Regions from separate parts of the Homo sapiens genome. Here region 2 is linked to region 1. The links are contacts of gene promoters, found by promoter capture Hi-C in blood cells and fetal thymus (Javierre and others, 2016). All regions are on one chromosome and are shown on one strand. The core of a region is centred on a gene start or on the middle of the fragment in contact, and the rest is flanking DNA. Distances in the headings are between cores, read along the strand shown.

The links. The method cuts DNA at HindIII sites, captures the fragments that hold promoters and counts their contacts. A CHiCAGO score of 5 or more calls a contact.
Region 2: a fragment that was not itself captured here is called in contact with the fragment with the promoter of FSD2 in region 1 in 1 of 17 cell types (total B cells); the score reaches 7.6 in total B cells.

The regions. Positions count from the first base shown.
Region 1 is chr15:82,803,114-82,807,604 of GRCh38, forward strand. FSD2 (fibronectin type III and SPRY domain containing 2) reads right to left here and starts at 2,956. Exons shown (of 13, transcript NM_001007122.4): 1 at 2,853-2,956. RefSeq lists an enhancer at 3,240-3,339. The HindIII fragment of the contact is 1,284 bases long and covers 2,290-3,573 here.
Region 2 is chr15:81,302,013-81,306,711 of GRCh38, forward strand. It overlaps IL16 (interleukin 16), which reads left to right. Exons shown (of 19, transcript NM_172217.5): 16 at 1,537-1,638; 17 at 3,896-4,154; 18 at 4,408-4,533. Among named protein-coding and RNA genes, the nearest start is that of STARD5, 20 kb to the right of the region's middle. RefSeq lists enhancers at 1,225-2,424, 1,809-2,339. The HindIII fragment of the contact is 1,130 bases long and covers 1,351-2,480 here.

The DNA of each region.
Region 1 (4,491 bases), core at 1,706-4,205:
GACGCTGCTTTCCCTCTTTCCTGGGACCCCAGAGTACTTCTCCTTCCTAAAGCACAGAGTCTGTGCCAAAATCCCACTATTTCCCTCTGTGGCTCGAAATCTTGCTTGAAACCCTCCTGTCTCTACAGTCTGCTGACTGCGCGCACCATGGTCCTTCCTCAGGGGTGTCCCTGCCCAGGATAGCAGCATAGCTTATACAGCATATGTTGCTTTGTTCAGGCAGAAGTGGTACATCTGCACATCGTGCATTCTGAGGGCTCCATTACTGGCAAGTCCCAACTCTCCTGGGCACCAGGGATCCCCCACCCCATGCCATAGCTCTATACTCCCCAAGCAGCCCCACCTTCCCTAGCGGTAACCCTCTGTTCCTTCTGGCCGCGCTCAGGGTCTTCCATGTGAGACTCACCCTAGGCCCTGGCTCAGACTGTCCTGCCTGCTGAGAGCTCCCACTCTTCCCTATCTCACCACTGCTTCTTAAACCCCATACTCATCCAACATGGCCCTCCATGAAGTCCACTGCATTGCTACTATCCATGAATGAGAGCATGACATCCACCCCCTCCAGCACCAAACCAGAGACCAGAAGCTCATCCTTGACACCCCCAATCTAATTAATAACTAATTCATGCTGATTCTGACTCTACCTCTTGAATCTCTAAGTAATATCCCTTTTCCTGTCCCCTCTCCCTGCTCCCCAAGATCACTGCCCTCTGGATTCAGAGAGTCCTGTGTTTGCATTGTTTCTGCCACATCCTGGAAGTATGACTTCAGGAAAATCATCTCTCTAGGCCTAACTTTAATGGACTATAAAACAGCTCTATTAACAGTGTCTACCTCATAAGGTTGGCATTTAGATGAAATAACATAATGTACTTTATGCATAGTACATAGCTTAAAGTAAGTCCTCAGTAAGTGTTAGCTGCTGTTATTGTTGTTGTTCTTACTATCATTATCATGATTCCTACCTTAGTATCTCCCACCTGGGCTAGAAGCCTTCTACCTAGTCACTCATGGAGAGTGACCACAGCAGTGTGGAATCATCCATGGCTACTGTGGGAATATTTGTCCCTTGAAAACAGCCGATGATGAAAGAAGGCACCAAGCAGAACAGCCTCATAACCACGCACAGACATCAGCTATGAGATCATTCCTCTCCCAGGGGGCCCAGGCAGAGATATGGTATTCTAGGGATGGAGGTCCCTTGGAGAGCATCTAATTCAATTTCCTGATTTTATTCAGCAGGTCATGGATGTTTAAAAAAAATTCCTGATTTTAGGATGGCAAAACTGAGATCTTGTGAGGATAAAGGACTTGCTTATAGCCAATTTTCTTTTACAAAAATGTATCTGGGCTACTCTGTATTTAGCCCTGTGCTTGAATCCAAGCTTTTCACCTGACACACAACCAGTCAGGTGAAGAGCTTGGATTCAAACCCAGGTTTCCATTAAATCACACCATCTACAGACAGAGGAGCAGTTCACTAAAATAATGCTTACATTCCCATGTGCTACCCAAAGGGAAATAGCCAGGATTCTGTATGACCAATAAATCATCATGAGAAATTATTTCAACCAGAAGCTGGAATGTGAAACACCAAGTTGAACTGTCAGAAGACTGGAAAACACTTAGTGCAAATACAGATAAGAACACATGCTTTCAAGCTGGCACTTGCCCTTCGAACACACAACACAAAGTGGTCTCAACACAAACTGGCTCAGTGTCAAAGTAGGAATTTTGCAACACACCCTACAGTTAACAGTCACTTTTCCCCTCAACACCTAGACTCTTTCTTAACAAAATCAGGATTTGGGGAGAAAGGAAAGTTGACAATAAACTGTCATTTTATAAATGGTGAAACTAAAGCTTAGAGAAGTAAAGCAATTAGTCATAGTCCATTATGAATGTCTTTGCTGGATACCCTTTCCTCTATGCCAAGGGAAGCAGTTAAAAAAAATAAAAAAGATGTTTGTCTAAGGCTTATATGGGAGGTGTATCCCTGTGCATTACTTAGAAAAGTCCCCCAATAATTTTTTTTTTTTTTTTTTTTTAGAGACAGGTTCTTGCTATGTTGCCCAGACTGGTCTTGAACTCCTGGGCTCATGCAATCTGCCACCTCACTTGGCTTGTTTATTAACCTTTTATGGATCATGGGCATATCTACTGAATCTACTGAAACCTGTGAATTCTCTTCCCAGAAGTGATTCCATAAGGGCAGGAACATAACTTTGCCTATAATTTTAGCTCTTCCATGCAGCCCTTGGCAATTCCTGAGCCACAGCAGTGAAAGAAAGCTTGCCTTAAAGTGTTACAGTGATATGAAATGATTCAAATCAGCTTTGCAGACACTGCCCGAACCTGAAAACTTTCTATAGGAGGAGGCTGTATGCATAACAAGTGAAAAATAATTACGATGCTGTTTTTTAGTATTTGAATCAATGCATGAAGTTATTATTTTTCAGCATGTACACACAGATTAAATAAAATGTATTTACAACACAATAGTATAGCCAGATGATATTCAACATCTATATTTCCAAACTGTTCTACCAAATGGTTCTAACTAATGGGTCCCAGCACTACAGATATCCTAAAGACACATTATAAGAATCACCAGCCCCTGTCTGCCTTCATCAGAGCCTCTCACATCCTGTCCCAACATCATGTTCAGTTAATGCGAATTCTTGCTTTAAGAAGGCACAGAAAACATTTACACTATTTATTGTAATTTAAACATCTGCAATTTACCATGATATCTCTTCCCACCTACAGGAAAGATATTGCATTAATATTGCAGCATTGAGTTTCTAATAATACAATTTGCATTGGAAGAATATGACTACCCCAAAACTTGCCTGCTAAGCGTCCATAAATGCTTCCTTTAACTCAGAGGACCTGGAGTTCTGCTAGAAAATTGAATCTGTGTTCAGCAGGCTTTCCTTCCTAGTGACCTCTGCATGCCCCACAGGCTACCCCTGCCTATTTTACACCAGAGTTCTGCAAGTGGGGCACCAAAGCTGGATGGTAACATGAGCTGGCTGCAGCCACAAATAGCAACAGGCCTGCCATGAGTGAAGGTCCAAATATAGACCTGCTGTGGCTGAGTTGCCACTTCTTACTACTCAAGTGTCACCAGGAGAGGTCACATGCCGTGCTCTGAGTTACTTTCTGTGCTGTGAGGGGTTTTAGACTTGTGGCTCTACCATGGGTCTCAGATGGCTGGTCATGTGGAGAGGGCTGGGGACTGTCACGGCAAGACCAGGAAGAAGATTCCTTTTTTTTTTTTTTAAGTGAATGAGTTTCTAAAATTATATGCAAAATTATGTCTGTGTCCTTATAGAATCACTTCCGGGAAGAGAACTCACAGGTTTCAATAGATTCTCAGAGGTGCTCATGAACCATACAAGGTTAAAAAACATTTTGGGGGCACTTTTCTAATCAAAGCACAGGACACACTTCCCATATAAGCCTTAAGCAAACATTATTATTTTTTTTTTTTACTTGCCATGGTATGGCATAGAAATGGGACTATCCAGCCAATACATTCCTTATGGACTATGATTGACTATTTCTCTAAGCTTTAGTTTAATAATTTATAAAATGACAATTTAGTGTTAATGTTCTTTTCTTCCAAAATTCTGACTCTGTTAAGAAGTTGAAAGAGTCTAGGTGTTGAGGAAAAAAGTGAGTGTTAACTGTGGGTGTGTTGCAAAATTCCTACTTTGATGCTGAGCCCACAGACCAGCATAACAGTATAATCTCTCTCTCCTCTCTCTCTCTCACATGCACGCACGCACACACACACACACACACACACAGTGTAATAGTCAGAGTTGTCCAGAGAAACAGAACCAATAGAATGTATACATATATGGAAACAGATTTATCATAAGGAATTGACTCATGTAATTATGAAGACCAAAAAGTCCCAAGATCTGCAGTTAGTAAGCGGAAGATCCAGGAGAGCCAATGGTGTGGTTCTAGTCCAAAGGCCAGCAGGCTCAAGACCCTGGAGAGCCAATGTTTCCATTTGAGTTGGAAGGCAGGAAAAAAACCCATATTCCCACTTGAAGGCAGTTAGGCAGGAAGAATTCCCTCTTATTCAAGCTTTTGTTCTATTCAGACCTTCAATCGATTGGATGAGGCCCACTCACATGAGGGAGGGCAACCAGTTTTACTCAGTCTACTAACTCAAAGGTTAATCTCATCCAGAAACACCATCACACACACACACCCAGAATAATGTCTGACTAAACACCTGGTGACCCAATCAAGTTGACACATTAAAATTAACCATCATACATATATATACATATGCTATAGACAGTTTATATTCCCCTAAAATTCCCATGTTGAAACCAAATCCCCAATGTGATGGTATTTGGAAATGTGGCCTTTGGGAGGTGATTAGGTCATGAAGGCAAGCCCTCATGAATAAAATTAGTGCCATTACATTGGGGGTCCCAGAGAGCTCTTCCATGTGAAGATGCAGTA
Region 2 (4,699 bases), core at 666-3,165, 1.5 Mb before region 1:
TCCCATATGTTTTCTGAGCATGACCCAAAGGGGTGTGGGGAGGAAGTGGCCAGGCTGAGCTGGGGCCAGCAGTCAAATGAGCTCAGGCTCATGGGTCCTGCACCCTCTAGGTGCTGCCCCAGGCCTCCGTAGGCTTTTGGCACTAGAATGATCCAGGCTAGGATGAGAGGATAAGGAGGTTCTCGTTTTCCATACAAGGAGGCCTCATAGCTGCAATTTCCACATCAAGAGTGTAGGTGAGTCTGATGAGCCCAAGGTGCTGCTGTGCTGAGATTCTTTCGCTGTGGCTTTCACTTGTCACCTGGGACCATCATCCCCCAGGATCTTACTCAGTGCAAATGAAATAACAGAGGCAGAGCGTGTAAAACACAAAGAGCCATCCTGCCTGAGCTGCTCTGGGGAGAGTATTTGCTTTCTAACATGAGAAGAGCCTTCTACAAGGCAAGTAACCTGATACTTGGGTAAAAGTTGAGAGAGTTGGGCTAGTGTTGGGGCTTGGAGGTGAGGGTGCAGTGAGGTACATTCATCCTTCCATGCCTTTGGGTCTTAGGGGCTCCAAGTCTTAGGATCATAGGGACAGCTGCAAGTCAGGTGCTCTAGTGACGCTGAGCAAGTGAATTCTTTGACATAAGTTTACTCCTTAGTGCCAAGGTACAAACAGGTGCCCCAAGAACCTGTAGGTGTACTTTATTTGGTCTGCATGGTGATGAAAAAAATATTGAATTCTATACATGATAAAACCTGAATTGAAACCTGGACTTTAGGGAAGTGATCTGGTAGCGCTAGTTCTGTATGCCTACGTAGAGCTGACCCTTTGAGCAGATGTACTCGTTGGCGCTCTGCAGTTCCTATCACACATCTGCCCATTTGGCTCATTTTAGGGACCTGCCTGACTCCTATAGGCATCTGAGTTTGAGACCCCTGCTCTAGACTGGAATAGGAGTCTCTGACTGTGTCCTGGCTCCATGGGAGTCCCCGTCTAGGCTAGGAAGTACCGTAGTAATGTGTGTGTGTGTGTGTGTGTGTGTGTGTCACACTTGCACACTGTGCATTGGGGCAGGATGTTAGCTGGGCTTCCTTAGTGCTGCTGCTGTGACCCATGGAGAAGTAGAAGGGAAGAAGGAGCAACCAATTCCTGCAGAACAGCACTGACCCCTGTTTTGTTTTTTGTTGTTTTTTTTTTTTGTTTTGTTTTACCTGAAGTCCTACAACCTGACTTCATCTCACACTGTCCAATATGCTGATTTCTGGCTGACTTCATGGCACTCCCCCTGCCCGGCTGTGGACAGGGTGAATGAGAGAGGAAAATAATTATGCTTGCTGCTTTACATACATTTTTTTTTTCTTCTAAGCTTCCCATGACTCCTGAAGGTCCATTCTTTACAGATGAGGAAACTGAGGTTTGAGGAGGTGATGTAACTTGGAGGCTGGCCAAGCTGGGGTTTGAGATAACAAATCAGTCTGATGTCAGTCCGATGTTAAATTGTTCATCCTCTTGCAGTAAAATGTTTTTGAATGTATGTATTTCCTCTGCAGCAATTAGACGGCATCCATGTCACCATCTTACACAAGGAGGAAGGTGCTGGTCTTGGGTTCAGCTTGGCAGGAGGAGCAGATCTAGAAAACAAGGTGATTACGGTGAGTGGCCAAGTGAAGGGGCATGTCACAGCCAGAGGCAATGGTTCTGGGGGAGGGGGACACACTTGCCAGGAAGGGGCCCTGTGCTGGGGAAATGAAGAATGCATGACACTAGGCCACTGGGCAGGTCCTGTCCACTCAGCACATCCCAGAGCCTGGGGCTGCGTGGAGAGGGTAGCAGGCCTGGCCATGGGCATCTTTTCCTGTGGGTCCCACTATTCTGGCTCATCCAATCTGATCAGCATTGGCTGCTGCCTTCAGGTCACCTGTACCTGACCCAGATGGTTTCTGGTTCTGCCAGTTTTGTGGAGCCATGCTGCGGCTGCTCGCTCTCTAAAGCCGAGTGCATTGCTGTCATCCCAGGGCTGTGTTGTCTCAGGGTATCCTTTGTGTAGGCTGTGCTGGGCTCATTTGAATTTCCATGCCCAACTGAAAACAAATCCTCCAGTTCACAGCATCAGCCAGCATTCAACATACCACACCCCCTTGCAGTGGCAATCTGGCATGTTCCTGCGTGTCACTTCAGAGTCAATCATGTCAGTGGTGACTTCCTTGATTTCCTGATAAGTTTTCTATCACATAAAAAACACTTAAAACCTGTAAGTCTCTATTTCTCTCACTGAGTGCAGCTGAGTATTACAAAAAGATTCCTGACCGTGTAGTTTACTTTCTACTTGAAGAGGAGGAAAGAGAGCTTGCCTGTGGGAATGGCACTTTGGGTATTTTTCTCTGTCCATGAGTAGCAACTTCTGTCCACGTCATCTGGCCAGTCACCCTTGAGACACTGCAGACAACAGGAAACTAGGAGGAAGGCGCACATGTTGGCTGAGCACATGCACAAAAGCTTCTTTCTCCTTCTGTGTTTGAGCATTTCTCTTCCTTTCCAGATGATTAAAAGGGAACTAACGTAGAGCACCATCCACGGCCATGCTGAGCACTCACTGACCTGTTGTCTAAATTCATCCTACCCACACTTTGGATTGATAAATTGGTGGCATTTATGCTTCTTTTATAGAGGAGGAACCTGAGGTTCCTCCTTTAATTAACTTTAATCTTCGTTGGCCTAAAAATCCTCTAGCATTGAGGAACCTGAGGCTCAGAGGAGAGGTTCTGCTTCATGCTTGGATGTTACAGCCTGGGGATTCTAACCATGTAACAGAATTTTTCTAACACCAAAACAATTTAGAGAAGCAAAGAGCTTTGCTCCTATCATAAAAGCAAAACTACAGGTACCACATTTTAGTGGTTTCCATGCATGCTATCACTCAGTCCTCTTAATTATAATGGACCTCATTAAAGAGGCTGAGGCAGAGACATGAGATATTTTTGTGTGTTTGTTTATCCCACATATCTTGCAGAAAGGGGACCAAGAGGTGACTGGAGGTAAAGAGTCAGAATTTCTAGGGGAGGAGCTATAAAAATGTCTAGACTGCCTAGGAGAGTGTTTCTCAAAATGCATTCTGCCAAATGAGACCGAGAATTTCTCTATGAGAAAAGAATTCTTTGTTGAAACACTTTGGGAATCCCCATAATACCCTGCCAATACTTAGAAATCTGCCATGCAGATTTGCATTGTAGACCCTCTAAATGCCTTTTGCTTAGAAATCTGCTGCCATGCAAATTTGCATTGTAGACCCTCTAATGCCTTTTGCTTTTTAAAAGTAGACAATGTCAGAGCTTTTGTTTCACCCAGTATTCCTCAAGTTTCTTTGATTTTAAAAAATTTTTCTTGGCCGGGTGTGGTGGCTCATACCTGTAATTCCAACACTGTGCGGGGCCAAGGTGAGAGGATTGCTTGAGCCCAGGAGTTTGAGACCATCCTGGGCAACACTGGGAGACCCTGTCTCTATTTTTTAAAAAATAATAGGAAAAGCCTTTTTCTTACACAATACCCGTTAATATGCCATAGAATCAGTGCCTTGAGAAAACTACTCTGGGGACTTCTGACCTAGGGCAGGTGAAGCAAAAGATTTTATATGGAATCCCAACTAGAATCGTGGTGGTACACTATAGGACGTTGTGTTGGGATGGATTCTGAGGGCTTACCTGGTCATTACTGCTGGTGATCTCTGCTCTGGATGGAGAAGGAGGGAATGCTGGCCTCTGTGCCAGCAGCTCCAATCTAGGACACAATTATCTTTAATCTTTGTTGGCCTAAAAATCCTCTAGCATTGACTAACCGGTTCAATCCTCCTCCAGCAAGTATGTGGACTGGACTTGTGTGATTTCTGGTCCTGACTTCCTTTGGTTTGCTCAGGTTCACAGAGTGTTTCCAAATGGGCTGGCCTCCCAGGAAGGGACTATTCAGAAGGGCAATGAGGTTCTTTCCATCAACGGCAAGTCTCTCAAGGGGACCACGCACCATGATGCCTTGGCCATCCTCCGCCAAGCTCGAGAGCCCAGGCAAGCTGTGATTGTCACAAGGAAGCTGACTCCAGAGGCCATGCCCGACCTCAACTCCTCCACTGACTCTGCAGCCTCAGCCTCTGCAGCCAGTGATGTTTCTGTAGAATCTAGTAAGTTCTCCCAACTCAGTGGAAGCCACATGGGCCACATCCTCTTTGGCCATTTGGGGCCAGACCTGATGGGGCTACTCAGTAATTTGTGACCCCAAGAATGTGTGGCTGCCTAGTACACTGCCTGAGACGTGTTTACATGTGCCTGTGTGCAAACACGGGGGCTGTATCACCCCGGGCTCACTTGAAGCCCAGGGCATCTGTGGCCTGGGAGAGGAGAGGATCCCTAACAGAGACCTTGTGTTTTTCTCAGCAGCAGAGGCCACAGTCTGCACGGTGACACTGGAGAAGATGTCGGCAGGGCTGGGCTTCAGCCTGGAAGGAGGGAAGGGCTCCCTACACGGAGACAAGCCTCTCACCATTAACAGGATTTTCAAAGGTGTGGGGTGTGTCTGGTTCTTTGCGTGCTCTCCAGTTGTGGGCATGTGGCCAGGCCCCCAAAAGGCTTCTGGGCACTTTCTGGGCTATGTTGTTTCCCACAACTCCATGTCCTCTTCATAGGCATGCTGGTCCTTTTAGGGCTCAATTCTGCTTTTTCTACTTTT